Linked DNA regions of Homo sapiens: all the other regions are linked to region 6. The links are contacts of gene promoters, found by promoter capture Hi-C in human tissues and cell types (Jung and others, 2019). All regions are on one chromosome and are shown on one strand. The core of a region is centred on a gene start or on the middle of the fragment in contact, and the rest is flanking DNA. Distances in the headings are between cores, read along the strand shown. Region 1 has its middle 98 kb from the start of LINC01422. Region 2 has its middle 86 kb from the start of LINC01422. Region 3 overlaps LINC01422 (long intergenic non-protein coding RNA 1422). Region 4 has its middle 100 kb from the start of LINC01422. Region 5 overlaps LOC110091768 (a long non-coding RNA gene). Region 6 holds the start of MN1 (MN1 proto-oncogene, transcriptional regulator). Region 7 holds the start of LOC110091768 (a long non-coding RNA gene).

The links. The method cuts DNA at HindIII sites, captures the fragments that hold promoters and counts their contacts. A contact is called where the count stands out against the background at its distance.
Region 1: a fragment that was not itself captured here is called in contact with the fragment with the promoter of MN1 in region 6 in 4 of the 25 tissues and cell types used here (IMR-90 fibroblasts, dorsolateral prefrontal cortex, mesenchymal stem cells and 1 more).
Region 2: a fragment that was not itself captured here is called in contact with the fragment with the promoter of MN1 in region 6 in 2 of the 25 tissues and cell types used here (IMR-90 fibroblasts and lymphoblastoid cells).
Region 3: a fragment that was not itself captured here is called in contact with the fragment with the promoter of MN1 in region 6 in 1 of the 25 tissues and cell types used here (dorsolateral prefrontal cortex).
Region 4: a contact is called between a fragment that was not itself captured here and the fragment with the promoter of MN1 in region 6, in 4 of the 25 tissues and cell types used here (aorta, dorsolateral prefrontal cortex, neural progenitor cells and 1 more).
Region 5: a contact is called between a fragment that was not itself captured here and the fragment with the promoter of MN1 in region 6, in 3 of the 25 tissues and cell types used here (aorta, dorsolateral prefrontal cortex and mesenchymal stem cells).
Region 7: a fragment that was not itself captured here is called in contact with the fragment with the promoter of MN1 in region 6 in 2 of the 25 tissues and cell types used here (dorsolateral prefrontal cortex and lymphoblastoid cells).

Annotation. Positions count from the first base shown.
Region 1 is chr22:26,803,891-26,806,590 of GRCh38, forward strand. No RefSeq gene overlaps it. Among named protein-coding and RNA genes, the nearest start is that of LINC01422, 98 kb to the right of the region's middle. The HindIII fragment of the contact is 8,411 bases long and covers 1-2,700 here.
Region 2 is chr22:26,987,466-26,990,165 of GRCh38, forward strand. No RefSeq gene overlaps it. Among named protein-coding and RNA genes, the nearest start is that of LINC01422, 86 kb to the left of the region's middle. The HindIII fragment of the contact is 6,951 bases long and covers 1-2,700 here.
Region 3 is chr22:26,906,848-26,909,547 of GRCh38, forward strand. The region is part of intron 2 of LINC01422 (long intergenic non-protein coding RNA 1422); the gene reads left to right. Among named protein-coding and RNA genes, the nearest start is that of LINC01422, 4.9 kb to the left of the region's middle. The HindIII fragment of the contact is 4,697 bases long and covers 1-2,700 here.
Region 4 is chr22:27,004,365-27,007,064 of GRCh38, forward strand. No RefSeq gene overlaps it. Among named protein-coding and RNA genes, the nearest start is that of LINC01422, 100 kb to the left of the region's middle. The HindIII fragment of the contact is 8,534 bases long and covers 1-2,700 here.
Region 5 is chr22:26,881,755-26,884,454 of GRCh38, forward strand. It overlaps LOC110091768 (a long non-coding RNA gene), which reads left to right. Exons shown (of 6, transcript NR_146604.1): 6 at 1-31. Among named protein-coding and RNA genes, the nearest start is that of LINC01422, 20 kb to the right of the region's middle. The HindIII fragment of the contact is 4,128 bases long and covers 1-2,700 here.
Region 6 is chr22:27,800,486-27,803,185 of GRCh38, forward strand. MN1 (MN1 proto-oncogene, transcriptional regulator) reads right to left here and starts at 1,271. Exons shown (of 2, transcript NM_002430.3): 1 at 1-1,271. The coding sequence starts at 58. The HindIII fragment of the contact is 23,630 bases long and covers 1-2,700 here.
Region 7 is chr22:26,857,823-26,860,522 of GRCh38, forward strand. LOC110091768 (a long non-coding RNA gene) reads left to right here and starts at 2,389. Exons shown (of 6, transcript NR_146604.1): 1 at 2,389-2,700. The HindIII fragment of the contact is 5,076 bases long and covers 1-2,700 here.

The sequences.
Region 1 (2,700 bases), core at 171-2,670, 1.0 Mb before region 6:
ATGGAGACAGGACTGAAACTCAGTGCCATCCCACCTTGAACCTTCTGTCTGAGAGGGTTGCCTGCAAGGAACTGATGGGGATGCCCCAGGAGGGATGGGACCCCCAAATGAGAGCATGCAGAGTGGGTGCTGATGAGATGTGAGGATCACCCAGGAGCACTGCAGTAGGGCCTGGGTAGGAGGTGGGAAGAGGAACAGTGAGGACATCTCTGTATTTGGAGAAGCCGCCATGATGGAGTCAGCCAACCTCACACCTAATTCTGGGGTTCCCAGGATAGTGGAATTTCCTAACTCTTCTCTGCCCCGTTCCCTCACGGGAAGAAATTTGCCAGAGATCGTAATAGGCATGGGGGCAGACAGACCTGAATTCAAATGCTGGTTCTGGGTAAGTGATTTAAAACTGCAGATTTCTCATCAATGACATGGGCATAATAACACCAGCTTTCAAGTGAGAGCCTTGGGGGCTACTGAAGGTAAGTTACACATGCTTCGTAAACTGTAAAGTGTTGTGTGGATGTGAGGTTCTGGTCGTTATCTGTTCATGTGTCTGTCTTCACTACACACTTTGAGCACCCAGTGAGCAAAGCCCTTGTCTGACTCCATCCTGTATACAGTTGGTGCTCAATAAATGTCAAAGGCATGACCCGTTGTGTGGGTTATAGTTCGTTTTGTTTATTCCCTTTGGGAATAGGTAGCTGACTGTGACCTAGTCTGGGACTTCAGGAGTGTTTCCAAGATGATTACTAATAACAACAAGGTCAACAGCTTATTTTATGAAGCACTTTATATGTGTTTGGTTCATCTCATCCTCACAGCAACCCCATGATATATATACTGGTGTCATCCCTACTTTACAGATGAGGAAAGGGAGATGTTGTATTACTTGCCCAAGGTCACACAGCACCTAAGTCGGGGAGGTGGGACTCAAATCTCAGTTTGGGTCTTTCCGACTCCCAAATGGGGCCCCCCCAACCACTGGGGGACCCTGCTGCCAAAGTTTCCTGTCCCCAGGCCTGGATAGAAGACAGAACAATGTGGAGTCTGTTGTCATCTGGGCACTCACATCCACTAATAATACAGTCAATTGCTCCTTTCAAATTACAGTAAATGTTTCCCCCCTTTGAACAAATCATTTACCGCAACTGCAGAAAGAGTGTCCTGTTTACATGCAGGGCCAAAGGAATTCCAATCTGAGTCTAATTATCGATGCTGAAGCTTCTGTGGCCTTGGGAAAGAGCTGCCTAATTGCACCAATTAATACCTGCCACTCGTATGGGCTTCGTCAGGTTCAAGGTTTGGTTTTCTTCCTCTGCGGGTTGTGGGGACGAGACGGGTTAGTGCAGCCACTGCGGGTTCAGATCTCCAGACCATGGACTGGGTGCACAAAGGGATTTTGTTTTCAGGCTATTGCCATTTTTGGAGGGGGCAGCTTTATTTGGGGCCACCCAGGCACTTGGCCAGACCTCACCGTGGCAGGGACTGCCTTTTGCAGGAGAATGAGGGGCCTGAGGGATGAGGTTTCCAGGTTTCCTGTTGCGACTCTGACTCACACTGAGATCCTCGGCAGGGCGGGTCTCCTGCTGGAGCCCCAGTTTCCCCATGCAGAAATGGGAAGATTTATGGGATCAGATGTAACATCTGCAATTGCAGTGCAAACCCAATGAGGCTAGACAGGCTGAGGAATTTTTACTAAAAACGGGAGGGCAGCAGTTGGGCGGCAGGTGACCCAGGCTCTAGCCTTGGCTCCACCTGTTACTTTCTGTGTAGCTTTAAAACAATACCTTTGCCTCTCTGAACCTCAATTTCCCCAGCTGCAAAATGGGGATGATTCCACCTTCTCTCTCTGATGCTTGTGTGGAAACCTTGCAAAGAACATCTTGGCCCATAAATATGGAGGCTGTGATCATCCCATGGTGCTGATGAGTTGCTTGATGAATTGCCGTATTGGAAGAGGAAAACCGTCAGGAACTGGCTGGGTGGCAGATAGGGTGCTGGGTGGGAGTGGGGAGGCAGAGAAAAGTTCATGGGCTTTTACATGAAACTGGGTTTGAATTTTACCTCCAACTCTTCTGAGCTCTGTGGTCTTTGATAATAACAATTACAAGAATCTGTATTGATTTTTGCTGCGTATCAGGTATTGTGTGATAAGGTATCATTTTTATACCCGTTTTACAGATGAAGAGGCTGAGGCTCAGAGAGATCAAATAAGTTTCTCAAAGTGACACAGCCTGAGATTGGAAGAGCCAGGATTAGGTCCTAGTTCCCTGTGATTTCAGAGCCTGTGCATGCAGCTCTTACACCTTCCTACCTTCAGTTGCCTCAGTCTCCCCACCTGTATAAGGAGCTAATGGTAACTTCTTCCAAGCAAACAGGTTGCTAGGATTGGGCAAGATTAGTTATATGAGACGGAAGGCCCATAGTGTGGCACCTGAGAGCCACATGGCCACAGAAGCTACAATTCTACATGAATGGTGTGGATTGGGAGACTCAGCCATTGTCTCACCCTCCCATTCATTTGAACTCCATAAGGACTGGTGGGAAACGTGGCTGTTTACTTTTCTAACAGGTAAAGCAGGGGAGTGGGTTGGGGCCATTTTCATTCTCCCACAGCCCCCTTTGCTGAAGATTCCCAATCTTTGATTTCCCCAGCACCCCTGGGGTTTGCAGTCCCACCTGAGTGCGTTTGGGATTGTTTTCTGA
Region 2 (2,700 bases), core at 123-2,622, 810 kb before region 6:
CATGAGTAGATGGCTAGACTGACTGATGAATGGATGAATGAATGAATGAATGAATAGATGGATGGATGAATAGATGAGTAGATGGATGGGTGAATAGGTGGTTGGATGGATGAATAAATGGGTGGATGGATGGATAGATAAATGGGTAGTTGGGTGGATAGACCGATGAATGGGTGGATGTTTGGAGGAATGAATGGGTGAGTGGATGAATGGATACATGAGCATATGGGTGAATGGGTGGATGAATGGCTGGCTGGCTGGCTGGATGGATAGCTGGGTGGATGAATGGGTGAGTGGATGGGTGGATGGGTGAATGGTTAGATAAATGAACGAATGGAAGGATAGCTGAACTTATTCTGCATATCCTTCTTCAGTTTTTCCTTGACAGTTTTAGATATCAATAAAATAATACAATGTGTAATTTTGTATCTGACTTTTTCATTCTACGTTTTTCTATGTATTAACAACTATAAGTACTTTTGATGGCTGTGTAGTATTCCATTGGGTGGACACTCCCTAATTCACTCAATCAGTTTCCTACTGGTGTGCATTTGAGAAGATGATATTTCATGAAAGTTAAGGCATTGGGCTCCAGCCCTAAGCACCAGGGTTCAGAAATTGCCATACCAGCATCTCAGCAGCATGACCACGTGATTACAGACAGGCTGTGTAATCTCTCTGTGTCTCAGTTTCCTCATCTGTAAAACAATGGTGATAACTTCTGGAGTTCTTATAATGATGAAATCAATTCAAGTAAAATATGGTGAACAGTTCTCGGTACCTAGTGAACACTAATGACTGTTTTCAGTTGTCACTCATACATGATTCAGTGAGGACTGTCCAGGTGGATGGAGCCTTAACTGTATCTCTGACTGTTCTGTCAGGATAGTCAGAGTGTTGCTAGAATTCTAAACCTTAGAATACTCAGGACAGGAGCCGAAACATCTCCTTTTCCACTAATGGACTCACAATTTAAAGTGACCATTCTGCAAAGCATGTCTGTCAGCAACCTGTACTATCATTTCTCTTTCACATTTCTGGCCTTGTCCTCAGATCTTTCCTCCTAACAGTGTGGCAGGAAGAGCCAGGGCTTTGGAGTAAGGGAGGCCTGGAGAATTTTAGAAAGTAACTTTCAGTTTTTGAGCCTTAGTGTTATCCATAAACAGTAGCAAACATGCCCAGATTGCAGGGGTGCTGAGAGAATCAATGGACAAATATATGTCTGGTGTTTGACCTGTGCCAGTGCTCTGACCTCTTATTCCTCAGTGGTCACCATCCTCAGACATGTGCTGAGTGGCCCCTGTGTACCTGGCCACATGTCAGGGGCTTGCCAGGCTGTATCACAGTAAACAAGCAAAGAAAGGAAGGAAGAAAGGCAGGCAGAGAAATGGGTAGATTTTGATTATGGAAACTCAGAGATGCAAAACAGACCTTTTCCTCCTCTTTGCAAGCTTTGGTTCTGAAACGTTCCAATAACATCACCCTTGCAGTCCTCATTTATTTAGCATCAAGAATTTCATGGTAGGTGAGGATGATTCCATGAGATAACTGTTAATACACAGTGAGTAAGCTATTTTGTTTTCCTTTACTGTAAAAAGGGACAGGCCCCGAAGAACCCGAAAGTCACAGAATCAGAGTGTTATGACTGGAGAGGAGCTTGGAGATCGGGTCTTCTTACTCCTAGAGCTGGACAGACCCTCTGTCCTGAGTCACACTGCCTCTGGTTTCCATCATTGATGCTTACTGAACTCAGAAATGAGGTAACTATCACGTGTCCCCCACCTCACCTTACTCCCAAATCTTTTTTCTCATTGCTATGGAGCCTGAAGGCCCTCTTACCAGACTATCACGCTAGGTCACGAAGATGTGTCATGGAGTTTGGGGACCTTTTCATTGGTGTATGTGCATCACAGGGTATGATTCATGTGGATCTTTTTTGCTATTGGGTACACAGAGACTGGCATAGTGCCTGGCCTGGACACATGTAGGGGCCTCATAATTATCTGTTGAATGAATGAGGGAATACATTTTTACCTGGAGAAGGAGCTGCAAGCCTAGAGAGGCCAGCTGCCAAGCCTCCTTCCCTGGCTCCTTCCCTGAAGCCTGTGATATTTAATTAATATGAGCCAAGCAGAGCCCACTTTATGGTGCTGGCCCAGGGGCCACCCATAATTGAGAAATGATAGGAGGCACCTGTGACTTGACCTTGGCTAATGATGAATGGACCCATATAGAGACCAGGAGCCAAGGATTCATGGGCTGGAGCATCCATCCAGAGAGCACATGTGGAAGAAAGGGAAAAGAGATGTTTGTAGCCCTGGTCTGTGATCTCAGAAAGTGGAACAGCTCCTGTGAAATTCTGATGATAGCATTTCCCAGGGGGAACATGCAGAGGTGTTGAGGGCTTGCCAGAAGCCAGGCTGTGGCTGAGCACTTTACAAGGAGCCTTAGAATGACAGTAGGTGCTGGTGTTCTTTATGGGGACTTAGTACATATCTGTTTGTTGAGTAAATAAATGAAAGAATCGAGGGATGCTTTGTAGGGAAGCAGAATAGAAATAGCATCTCACCAGGTGAAGGGGAATGAGCCTTAGACTAGTGCAGCCCTCTCTGCTCCTGCCTTTTGGCTCTGGTGATGTTTTGGGGGTGAAGAGGAGCTCTATGTTGCAGACTCCAGTCTGGGGTCAGCTCGTCTGCTTCC
Region 3 (2,700 bases), core at 55-2,554, 890 kb before region 6:
GTTCAACCCCCGTCAGAGTGATATTTCTTGACCTTGTCACTTAACTGCTCAAAACCTTTCAATGGCTCCCTAGTACCCCTATGTTCTGACTTACAGGGTCCTTCAAGATCTGCACCTGAGGGTGTCTCTAAGGGACTTGGAATGCTCTGAAAGTTTCATATCTCTGCTCCTTGCCTTCCCATGAGCTCCTCCTGTTCTTGGGAGTGCTCACTCCTCTTTCTTGACCCTTCTTCAGTAACCAACTCAAACTCAAACTCAAACTCCTCTGTCCTTGCACCCTTTACCTTTTATCCCTCCAGTGAGAGTTTGGTGTTTATTGTTGGTACCTTATATATAGTCATCCCTGGGTACCCATGAAGGATTGGTTCCAGGACCCCCTGTGGATACCAAAATCCACGAATCCTCAAGTCACTGATACAAAATGACATAGTATTTGCATATAACCTACACAATCCACCTGTATGCTTTAAATCATTTCCAGATTACTTAACAATACCTAATACAATGTAAATGCTATGTAAATACTTGTTATACTCTATTGTTTAGGGAATAATGACAAGAAAAGAAGTCTGTACATGTTCAGCACAACCATTCTTTTTTTTTTTGAGACAGTGTCTGTCTCTGTCACTCAGGCTGGGGTTCAGTGGCTCCACTATAGCTCACTACATCCTCCACCTCCTGGGCTCAAGAGGTTCTCCCACTCAGCCTCCTGAGTTGCTAGAACTGTAGGCATGCACCACCACACCCAGCCTATTTTTTGATTTTTTTGGAGAGGCAGGATCTTGCTTTGTTGCCTAGGCTGATCTCAAATTCCTGAGCTCAAGCAATTCTCCTGCCTCGGCCTCCCAAAGTGCTGGGATTATAGGTGTGAACCACTGCGCCTGGCTGAAAATACTTATTATGTTACATCTTCTTATGTTACATTGAGTGGGTAAGTGAGTGAGAATCCTTAAATATAACAGAGAAACAGAAAACTAGGGGCCTGTAGATTGTGTTGCTTTACAAGATTCAGGTGAATTGCTTTTTGACTCTTCCAATAAGCTCTCAAGTATATTTAACATTTTTTTTTTTTTTTTTTTTTTAACAGAAGTGGTGTCTCACTATGTTAGGCCAGGCTGGTCTCCAACTCCTGGCCTCAAGTGATCCTCCCCCTCCAGCCTCCCAAAGTGCTGGGATTACAGGCATGATATACTGCGCCTGGCCTGCAACCGTCCTTTTTTCCCCCTGATTATTTTCGATGTGTTGTTGGTTGAATCCACAAATGCAGAATCCAAGAATATGGAGGGCCAACTGTATGTCTGCCTTAGAGGGCTCCACAGGTTGCCTCATTTGCTTCCCTGTTGCCACCAGAAGATCATGCACCACTGGGCGGCATGGTCTGGAGAGTCCCATTCATCTTCATCGGGGCCTGAACAGAGAAACTGACAAATTAAAGATAATTGAATGACATAATGAATGGGTGCAAATTGGGTTGGTCCCTCACCATCTCCACTTCTTAGCCATGTTGGATCTGCCAAGTCAATTACCACCATTGCCTTCTCACTTCCCCATTTCCAAACCTCATGACTGTTACCTTTTCCTCCGTTCTCCTTGTCCTTATGAGTTTATGCCTTTAAAACAAATCCTGTATTATAATAGTATTGTCTTTTAGGGAAGGAAATATATTAGAGGAGTGTGTTCAATCTACCATCTTTCCTGGAAGTCAGTAACAAATGAAAGGAAATTTACCTGATAGATTGTGGGCAAGTCACTTCTCTCCGTACGGTCTCTAATTCTTCACCTGTGGCATGAGGAAGTTGGGCTGGATGAGTTCTAGGGTCCAGCCAAAGTCTGCGAGGGGGTCAGCGCTGGATTAGAGATGTCTGGTGGACCGTGGGCATGGATTTTACATAACAGCAGTCACTCTCTGGGATCCCTACTCTGGCCAGTGCTCCCCTTGGACTGCTAATTCTCTTTCCACACATTCAGGTTCTGACTCCCAAACTCTGAGGACGATGGCAGGTTCTGAGGTCCCTCCCATCTTGTACAACTCACAGTGACAGTAACTGTCTCAGCCTGTTCGGGCTGCTTATAACAAAGGAGCATGGACTGGGTGGCTCATAAACAACAGGAATTTATTTGAGGCATGCTACCCCAAACATCACAAGTCCACTCCCTGTCTGGGAAGCAGAAGGCTGAAAGTCCTACATCAGGGCCAGCAGAATTGATTCTGATGGGGGTTTTCTTCCAGGTCGCAGACTATCGACTTCTTGCTGTATCCTCACATGGTGGAAAGGGTGCTGGGGAGCCCCATGCGGTTTCTTTAATGAGGGCACTAATTCTGTTCATGAGGGCTCCACCCTCATGACCTAATCACCCCCACAGGTCCAGCCTCCTAACAGCATCGTGCTGGGGGTAAGGATTTCAATATATGATTTTTGGGAGAACACGTTCAGTCCGTAGCAGTGACTGACACTTGTCCAGTTCAGTGGCTTACTCAGAGACCTCACCTTGACCTAATGCTTGTGCCAACCTGGTGAGAAATCTGGAATCCCATTCCACAGATTAGAAATCTGAGGTTTAGAGAGGGGAGGGGACTCACCTAAGGCCACGGAGCAAGTCAGTAAGGACCCAAGCTGGCAGTCGTGGTCTAACTGACCTACATTCCTGGAGCGTCCAGCATCCTGCCCATGGTGGCTGCTCAGCTGATATTTGTTTGGA
Region 4 (2,700 bases), core at 151-2,650, 800 kb before region 6:
AAAGTTTTTGTGCCATTTTTACACTCTGTGGTGAAAGCATTTATCCAACAAACTTTTGCTAAGCATGGAAAAAAAAACTGTCACAGTTAATTTGTGTTTAGATATAAAACAGAGTTAGGCTGGATTATTGATTTTTGTTCCCAATGTTTCAAGCTTCCATGTACCTCTGCCCTTTGCCATGTGACTTTGAGGCCCTTCCTACTAGAGGTGGGGCTTATTTCCTCATCCAGTTGTTACTGGGCTTGGTCATGTGACTTAATTTGACCAATGATCCCTGAGCAGACATAATGCAAAGGGAAGATTTAAATATACTGTGTGGTTTGCCTTGGCTTCTTGCAGTCCTGTTATTTGCATGAGAACAGCATGCCCCAGGTACATGCCGGTCTATGGAGGAAGAGAGAGAGGTGAAGCAGCCTAGAGTCAAATGCAGTCAATCTGTAGGGCTTCTGAGTAAGAAAAATAAATGCTTTTTGCCAGTAATTGAGATTTTTGGGATTATTTGTTACACAGCAAACACTGAGTAATAAAATAGCTAGACTCAGGTGTTTATAAACAAAGGTTTACCTTCATGAATGTTCTATAGAACATTTAAAATTTATGTGTGACTCAGGGTGATTCTTTAGTGAGTGCGAATTACAGTATGACTAGAGTCTCTGGCTTCTGCCACTTCAATATCAATGTTGACCTTTCAATATGGGAACTAGACAGTGAAGCTCTGCCTTACCAGACCACACATACTCTTCGTTATACACATTATAACCTCCACTTCACTATTCTGAATTGAAAATCATACATTTCATCTACATATACATGTAATTTCAAAAAAGTTAATATAATGCCCTAACTGTAAGGGAGGAATAAAATGAAAGCAATTTATAATAAAATAATATCTATTTTAATATGTAAATTATCAAAAACCACTATATGCCAGGAAACATGATGAAGCGGTCTGATGCTTGTGTCTACTTATAATGAGTAAGTTGAAATTTCAGACAAATATTCAATTGAATATTGTCGACATTTTTTTCTCTATTTTTGACATTTTGAAATAAGAGCTAAATTAGTATATTCATATATATGGGTAGTGTCACTGTGAATAGGACTGCAAAAGTCGACTGACACAGGTGTGCAGGCAGCAATTCACGTTCCACGATCAACTTTGAGGTCGATGCCTGGATTTTCCAAAGTGAAAAACAACTCTTGTTGGGGTTTTGGATAAAACAAAGTATTCCCTTCCCCCAATTTACACTGCAACTACATTCAAGGAAAATCCCATGTAAAGCAAATCTGTGCCAAAACATTTAGCTGTATGTAAGACGGATTTAAATTCTAGGCTCAGATAATTATTAAGGAGGAATTATATCTACATGAATGCCCAGAAGGGCACTCAAAATTCCTGAGGCACTTGGGGCCATTCTTCTTGCTGTGGGACTGTCTTGGGAATTGCATGTCCTGCATTGCTGATGTAATTCTCCCCAATTACTAGGACGGATCTTCTCAAAGTTAGTACCATTGACATCTTGGATCAGATCAGATTAAGTCGTTATTGTAGGGGGTTTTCCTGTGCATTGTGGGATGTTTAGCAACCTCCCCGGTTTCTGTGATGCCAGAAACATCTCCCCCTTAAGTTATGACAATCAAAAATATCTCTAGATATTGCCAATGTCTCCTGAGGGTGCAAAATATCCACTTGTTGAGCACCACTGGGATAAGATAATAGAAAATGCTTCACATCCTACATTCCTAAAATTCCCCTTAGGAGATGCTACTAACTCCATTAAGATACACTTGTCCAGGAAGCCCTGGATTTTATTGTATTATTTCATTCCAATACCAGAAATTGAGCACTTATGTTGTGTCAGGTGTCATTGATGTAGCAAGGAATATGACGATCTTTTAACTCTTTGGGTTCAAAGACTATCCTTCTGCCTCCCCTCTGCTGTCCTTGCTCACAGTGGGAAGATGGCCCCCCAGGGAGTTGGGAGCTGGGACTGGATTGTGGAAAGCCTTGAATGTCAAGCCAAGGAGTGGTCAAACCTCAGAATTAGGATGAATCTTAAGAAACGTCTGGTTGGCCGGGCGCAGTGGCCCACGCCTGTAATCCCAGCATTTTGGGAGGCCCAGGCGGGTGGATCATTTGAGATCAGGAGTTCAAGACCAGCCTATCCAGCAGGGTGAAACCCCACCTCTACTAAAAATACAAAAATTAGCTGGGTGTGGTGGCAGGTGCCTGTAATCCCAGCTACTTGGGAGACTGAGGCAGGAGAATCACTTGAGCCTGGGAAGTGAAGGTTGTGGTGAGCCGAGATTGCACCAATGCACTCCAGTCTGGGTGACAGAGTGAGACCCTGTCACAAAAAAAGAAACATCTGGTCCCCCAGTGGCCATGTCCACCAAAACAAGACCTTCTTCTGAGGTGATGGTGTCCCCTGTAGATCCCTTAAAAAGGAAAAAAATACAAGGGGAGAGTTAGGTTATTCCAAGATCAGATAGTAGAAGGGCGGGGGAAGAGGTGCAGAATTTAACTGCAGTCTGCGGCAGCTCCTTCTCATTTCCTTTCCCCTGCTGGGCTATGAGAGTTACTATCTTACAGAACTTTCTCAATCCCTTGCATGGCAAGGAGTATTATTCTCATTTTACAGATGATAACACTGAGCCTCAGGTAGGGAAAGTCATTTGCCAAAGGTCACTGAGCCTGTA
Region 5 (2,700 bases), core at 200-2,699, 920 kb before region 6:
CTTTACTTTTGTATTATTCTTAGTGGATTTTGGTATAAAGGTCTTATTAGCCTCAAATGAATTTGAATTATGCCCCACCTTTCTCATTCTTTAATGCATAGACTATTGGATTTACCTGTACATTAAAGGTCTGACATAACAGGTTTATAAAATGTTAAGCTCCCAGGGAATGAGGTGCGATGGTCAGGAGAGGGGATAATAATAGATTTTGTACAATGTTTAATGGATATTAGACTTTTAAGTCTAACATTTTTTTCTTCTTCTGCCAACTTTGGTCATTTTTATTTCTTTCAAATCATTTTATTTAAGTTTCAAATGTATTGGTAAGTATGCTGCTTGTAGTATTTTTTTTTTTTTTTTGAGACAGGGTCTTGCTTTGTCGCCCAGGCTGGAGTGGTGGCACGATCTCGGCTCACTGCAAGCTCTGCCTCCCGGGTTCACACCATTCTCCTGCCTCAGCCTCCTGAGTAGCTGGGACTACAGGTGCCTGCCACCATACCTGGCTGATTTTTTTGTATTTTTAGTAGAGACGGGGTTTCACTGTGTTAGCCAGGATAGTCTCGATCTCCTGACCTCATGATCCGCCCGCCTCAGCCTCCCAAAGTGCTGGGATTACAGGCATGAGCCACCATGCCCTGTCTGCTTGTAGTATTTTTGAAATAATTTGTAAAAGCTCTCCTGTTTTTGTAGTTAAAAGACTTATGCTGTATAACTCTCCCTTCTCACTCCCTTTCTCCATTTTTTTCTTAATCAGACTTGCTAGAGGCTTTATTTATTTAAAAAGTATGTTTTGTTTTGTTTGTCTTTGAGACAGGGTCTGGCTCTGTTGCCCAGGCTGGAGTGCAGTGGCATGATCTTGGCTCACTGCAAGCTTTGCTTCACAGGCTGAAGCCAACTGAGTGGCTGGGACTACAGGCACATGCCACACCCGGCTAACTTTGTATTCTTTTTGTAGAGATGGGGTTTCACTATGTTGCCCAGGCTGGTCCTGAACTCCTGAGCTCAAGTGACCAGCCTGCCTCGGCCTCCCAGAGTGCTGGGATTACAGGTGTGAGCCACCGCTCCTGACCAAAAGTATTTTTTGTGCTTGTGGATATTCTCCATTGTTCCAATGTCTTGGGGTCAGAGTGTTGGCAATTGTCTTGCTGGTAGCCAGATTTGAGGATGACGAGTTTGCCCAAGGGAGACAATATTATAGTAAACAGTAATTGCGTGGCATCATTAAGTCCTTAAGGACAGGAATGGGGCATTATTCATCCTTTGATCTTCAGTATCCAGCACATGTAGAGAGCTCCATGATGCTTTGCAAATTGATGAATAGGATAGGACCGACAGAGATGCCAGAATTGCATACAAACCGTGTGACCTTTGCAATATCCACCCCCTAATACCTCATTGCCATCTCTGCAGCCAGTAAACTAGATTTTAGCAGAGATGGAAAGACCATTTATTTGGGTCATACTTCCTCAAATGCAAAATGGCTCCATCCATTGTGGGTTTTGGCCCTAAAATATAGAGCTTTCCAGAGCAGTTCTATTTGTTGGACAGGAAATGGCTCTACACCCTTCTCAATAGATGGATACCAATCAGTTTCATTCCAGCCAAGCCAAGCCAACTAAACCCAACGAAATCTACTTAACCCAATTCAATCCACATCAATTCAACTGAAATAAACCGACATAACCCAACTTAGTACAACCTCACCACCGACACAATACAACCCCATTCAACTTGACCTTATTCAGCAAAAACCATTGAACCCAACAAATTCCAACAAATTACATTTCAACATGATGCAACAGACCACTTCTCAGCCACCTAAGTCAACCCAATACAAGCCAATCCAAGTCAGCACAACTCCCAGCACAAGATAGTCCCACAACCCAATGAAATTCAATCTAGCGCAATTTAATAAACTGTTTCAACAACTCTTTTGTCTAAGGAAGGTAAGGTACTTTGGACAGAAGACCAAAATAATGTCTCTTAAATGTCTATTTGTTTACCATTCGTGTTTAATGGAACTCTTGAAATTATAGCCTCTCCAAATCTCCTCAGTGTGTGAGGTAACTGAAACTCAGGAATTAAAGCCGCCTCCCCTCTCTGGCCCCTGAATCCTCACACTTTATTTTATGGAGTTACTGGTCTCATCTGAACTAGATTGTGAGTGCTTGGGGGCAGAAACGGTGTCAAATTCATCTCCCTTCAGTACCTTTAGATGGGCATCAAGAAAATATAGTTTAAACGTATAAATGACTAGAAGTTTGTGAAGCTTATTCAGTTTTGGAGGTCAGTAGCGTTTTATCCCCTTTGGGGACCTGGCTGAGGAGGATTGTCAGGAGGGCCCACAGACGGACCTAGGTTTGACTCCTGGCTTTGCCACCTACTATCTGTGTGCCCTTGGGCAAGTCATACCACCTTTCTGGGGCTCAGTTTCCTTGTTCATAAAGTGAGGGATGTATTACTGACTCTAGGGCTGTTCTGGGGATAAATATTGAGTTGACACATGTGAAGCACTTCCACCATATCTGACATATAATTGAGGATGCATAAATACCTACTATATTTTTTTCCCTGAGTTTCCTTGTTCAGCATTTTCTTTTAGTGACTTGGGGACAGCAGCCTCTGTGGACCAGAAAATTTCAAAACTCTCTCTGGATCCCTTGTAGGATAATACCCTCTCTTGTGATAATTTCATTGGCA
Region 6 (2,700 bases), core at 21-2,520:
CGCCCTGGCCAGCGTTCCTGCTGTTGACCTGGGGCTCGAATTGGTCCAGCCCAAACATACTTGGCGGGGGGCAGAGGGGGATCAATAGGGCATGACAGCCGGCTCTCCGCGGCGCGCCTCCGGCCAGCTACTCGTTCCAGCCCAGGATTGGGCGCTCCGGGACGCTCAGCACCGCGGGGGCTCAGCGCGCACCTCCACCCCGCCTGATGTGAGGGACGGGGGGCGGGGTATTAGCTCCTCTCCTGAAGCTCCGATTCTGCCCGGGGAGGGCCTCTCACATCTTGCGAGGCCGCGGGGCCTCTAGGAGCCGTGTTGGGGGGCCCATGCCCCGGGCGGTTGTCACAGCCGCGGGTGGGTCTGCGGGGAGGGGACGAAGCCGCGGATGAACGGAGACAAAAAGTTAAGTGGGGGGAATGGGGAGGGAAGGGGGTTGGGAGAGCAGAGCGATCACCTTCTCAAGTCCGATTGGGTCTGCTGGGGAGCCCTCAGGACGCCGCCCGCAGCCTCCCGGAGTCCGTGGCAGAGCTGCTAAGGGCAGGGGAGGGAGACCCTTCAAAGCCGCGGCTGGCGCCGGGCACCGACAGAGCGGTCCCTCCCCCCGCCCCCCGGAGTCCCCGCGCCCCGCAGCCCGAGCCTCCACCGAGCACGATCCGCTCGCACAATCCCCGTAGGCTCCGGGCGAGCGGCTGCTGCTTCTTCAGCGGGTCGGAGGACTGGAGGCTCCGCTCGGCATCGCCGGTGCCGGCCCCCGAGCCGAGGACGCAGAGGGGCTGCGAGGCGGCAGGCGCCGGGGGCTGGAGCCGAGGGTCGGGGAAAGGCGCGGCTCCTCTGCTCGGCAGCGGGTGCGCTGCGTTCGGCGCGCAGCTTCGCGGCCACGTCCGCCGCCTGCCGCTTCTGTTCTCCGCCGTTGGGTGTCTGAGTTCGCCGGAGTCTCCGCGCACCGTTGCAGGCGCGGGAGGGCAGCGAGACGAGGGGTTGGGTCGCTCCAAGGCTCCGGTTCCCTGCCTCCGCGCTGAGGTGCTTCGCGAGTCCCTCTCGGACCTGAGGGAGGGGGGCGTACGCGGGTCGGGGGGCCACGCCGGGCGAGCAGGCTAAGGCGTTCCCGCTGCGCTCTCAGAGCCCGGAATGGGGGGAGGGGGGCGCGGGGGCAGCTCTGGGGGGTCTGCGCACCCCTCTCCCGACTAGCGGGGGGGCTCTGCGTGGGGCGTTCCGAGGGTCTCGGCTCCCCTCTCTGTGTCTGCCTCTCGCCCAGCGCCGGGAGAAGCAGCAACAAGTTTTGCATTTCAGCAATCAATTTCAGCCATTACATTTGCACCAATCAGCGCCGCCCAAGTTCCGGGCTCGGGGCGGGGCTCGCTCTTAAGGTGGTCCGGGGTCCTGGCTGCCGAAGCCCCCGCCACGAACCCGCACTACCCCAGCTCTGGGGTCCCCTGCGCCCGCCTCTCCTCGGGGTCCGGCGTCAGTGCGCTGGGGGCGCGCCCCGGCCTCCGGGCGCATCGAGCTGGAGAGGGTGCAGGCGGAGGAGAATGGCGGGAGCTTGGCTTTGTTCACCCCCTTCCCATTCACACTGTTCCCAACTCCCCACCCCCAACTGGAGCGAGACCCACCGGGTGGGCAGGGGGCGGGGAGGTGGGCGGTGAGCGGTACGGGGCGCTCAGACAATGAGGTCGCCAGGCAAAGACCCTAGACTCGCCACGGAAAGTCGCTAAGTGTCTACTGCACTTCGGCTCCGGGGTGAACACTCCGTTCTCCGCTAGCGGCGCCCAAGTTAGCCGGCCCTGGGATTTTCTTGGAGGGTAAAGCAGACGGGGAACCTCGAAGTTAGGGTTCTCCTCGAGAGACCTGGGCGCTTGCTCACTCCTCCGTCACTAGGGCGTTCACAATTGTTCCCCTTCCCCACTGCCTGGGGTTCCCGGTTCTCACCGGCCGGCGTGGGCTCCAAGGAGTCACAGTCACTCAGCCACTTTATGGGGGAGCACATCGGTTGAGCCCAGTAACCGGAGCGACTTGCGAGGCGGCTGGGAACCCCGAGAAGACACGCACGAAGAGGGCGCACCCGCCGGGCCGCACACCTTGCCCTGGGCCACCCGGTCCAAGACCCAGACCCTCTGCGGGTGCGAAGTTGGCCTCCTTAAGAGATCAATTAAACTGAAGAGGCCGAGGAATGGAATTGGGCTGTGATACTAAAATCAATAGGAGTAATTTAATATCTGCCCTGCTCTTTATGAAATATTTATCCCAATAATCTTAGTTAAAATGTTTAGATCGTCCTGATCCCCACAGAGGCTGAAATCTATCTTGCAATTAGAAGTTGGAAGTTAGAGGTGATGGAGGATAGAGGTGTTTATTCTGTGCGCCTGTGTGCGTGTGCTCGCGCCTGCGTGCGTGTGTTTGTGCATGCGTGTGTGTGTGTGTGTGTGTTCCTCCCTAAAGTGTGTGTAGGGAAGGAGGGGGGAGAAGGCCTTTAATTTTCCTTGCCATAAAATAGCACGAGGCGATTTTGCTAGCAGATTCGCATTCTTAGGAGAAGGGCGAAAAAAGAACTTTCTTTGAAGTGCCCCTGATATCGCTATTAAATCTAAATAAAATTAAGCGTGGTGTATGAAAATGCCTTTCCCCCCCCACAAAAGAAAGTGTTTATCGCCCGAGTCTGTCTAGCGTTTGCTAAATTACGCATGAAATCTGAAATGAAATAAACGT
Region 7 (2,700 bases), core at 114-2,613, 940 kb before region 6:
TAAAGGCACATTTATTTACTTGAGGGGTTACATGTTAAGTCACGGAGGCACAGATTCTAGAGGAGCCAGTAGCAGGGCCTGAGCTTGGTCCAGGGTTGGCCAGGAAGCTCTTTCCTGCAGAAGTAATGCTTGCACTCAGGACCAAAAGATGACCAGGTGAAGAGTCACCTCACTCCTTGAAACCTCAGTTTCCTTCTTTGTAAAGTGGGATGATAGTAACACCTACATTCCAGGATATTTGTGAGGATAAACTGAGATGACACAGGTGAAAATGAGTAGTACGGAGTCTGGTACATAGTCAGTGCCCATCGTATCATGGCTTTGGCCATAGTCCCTCGATGTGAAGTGAAGTTCCCATAGATTGGAAGGCCTATCGTTGACTTAGAAACTGCTGCCCAAGGGACAAAGAAGAATGCAAGCCCACTATGTGAAATGGAAGCACACAGAAAAGGAAGGGCCTCACTCTGCTCTCTCTCTTCTGTGTGTGTGTGTGTGTGTGTGTGTGTGTGTGTGTGTGTGTGTATGATGAGAAGTTTGCACAGAGAAGCTGGTGTTTAGGCCAGGTCCTGAATGGTAGATAGCAGTTTACAAGAGAAAAGGGGGAGGAAGGGTGTCAGAGATAAAAGGAACATCAATGCAAAGTGATACAAGGATGAGAATGAGTGTCATCCGCCTTGTCAGATGCCTGGGGAAATTCCAATGGGCACATGGAACAGATCCCCAAACAAAACAACCTTTAATAACACAATACTATTACTCCTAATGGCAATAACGGCAAAAGCAATAATCACAATGACCACAATAGCAACAGCCGTTACCATGCATTGACAGGTTACTCTCTTTCAGGCACTGTACATGGGTAACTTCACCTGAAATGCTGAAAATAAATCTTGCTCATTCTTTCCTGGGATATAGTGAATGACTTCATGCCCTACATTGTATGGGCTACCCACATAGGTGAGGAATTGAGGATACAGCCATGGAGGATTTTTCTGTTAAACCTCAGAAGGGATGCTCTCAATTTCTGCAAGGCTCTCCTGGGCAACATGAACGGTCCAGACAAGTTCATTCATTTTTTTGTTTTTCTGGAGGGTTAAATGGGGGATAGAGTATTCAGGAGGTAGGTTTAGCTCAGTCCAAGGATGGCTACAAAGAGCTGTGGTAGGTAGTGCTCTGACAAAGAGTTCCCTGTCGTGGGGATATTCAAGTGTAACTCAGTTAATTTCTTGTTGGGGATGTTCTGAGCATGGTCAGAACAAAGAGAAAGGGAAATTCAGGGGGAATTGGTCTAGAAGATCCCTTCAATTCCAGGATGCTGTGGTTTCAGGAAGGCAGGAATGATCTACCATGAAAGGTTTTTACAACAGTAGGAAACATCATCATCTTGGCTTTGCCTGTCTCCAGGAGGCTTGAATGTGATTTGCATAACCACAGGGGGATGGATGTCTTGATCTTTCACAGTTTTTTTCCAGCCCTTAGAATCATTCTGGTCTTTGCTTGCAACCTCCTTTAGAACCATATCCTGAGCCACCTCCATCCTTCTCCCAAATTATTGTAACAACTTCTGAGTAGGTCCCCTAGCACTCTATAATCTACCCTCCACACAGAAGCAAAAGCTATCATATAAAATAAAAATCGGATATATTTTCCCCCTACAGTTGTAACTTATGACCATAGCCGTCCCCAACCCAACTGGTTCTCCCATTCCACCTCCCCTCACCTAATGTGCACAAACCACTCTCCCTTCTTTTCTGACTCACAAACATTCAGGGCTTTTGCCTTTCCTCTGTCTGAGCCCTCTTCCCCTAGGACTTTGCAAGGCCAGTTTTTTTCTCATCGTTAAATTCCCAGCTCAACTGTCACCCCAGACAGGGCTCTCTGACCAGTCTCCAGTCACTCCATCCGGACGACCCTTTTAATTTTCCTTTCAGCATTTATCTAGCTGGGCCTGGTGATGTGTGTCTGTAGTTTCAGCCACTCGGGAGGCTGAGGAAGGAGGATTGCTGGAGCCCAGGAGTTCAAGGCTGCAGTGAGCTGTGATCATCACTTTGCTCCAGTCTGGATGACAGAGCGAGACCCTGTCTCTAAAACATAAATAAATAGGCCAGGTTTGGTGGCTCATGCCTGTAATCCCAGCACTTTTGGAGGCTGAAGCCAGTGGATTGTTTGAGCCCAGGAATTTGAGACCAGCCTGGACAACAGGTGAAACCCTGTTTCTAGGAAAAGCAAAAATTAGCCAGGCATAGTGGTACATACCTGTGGTCCCAGATACTCAGGAGGCTGATGTGAAAGGACCACCTGAGCCTGGGAAGTTGAGGCTGCAGTGAGCTGAGACTGCTCCACTGAACTCTAGCCTGGGCGGCAGAGTGAGACCCTGTCTCTAAATACATAAATAAAATAAGTAAAGCACTTTTCAGTATCTTTCTGGAATTCTTATCTATTTGTTAACATATGTATGGTCTTTTTCTGCTGCTGAGAGGTGAAGCCAGCTGGACTTCCTGGCTCGAGTAGGGACTTGGAGAACTTTTCTGTCTAGTTAGAGGTTTGTAAATGCACCAATCAGCGCTTTGTGTCTAGCCAAAGGATTGTAAATGCACCAATCAGCAACTCTGTAAAATGGACCAATCAGCACTCTGTAAAATGGACCAATCAGCACTCTGTAAAATTGACCAATCAGCAGGATGTGGGAGGGGACAAATA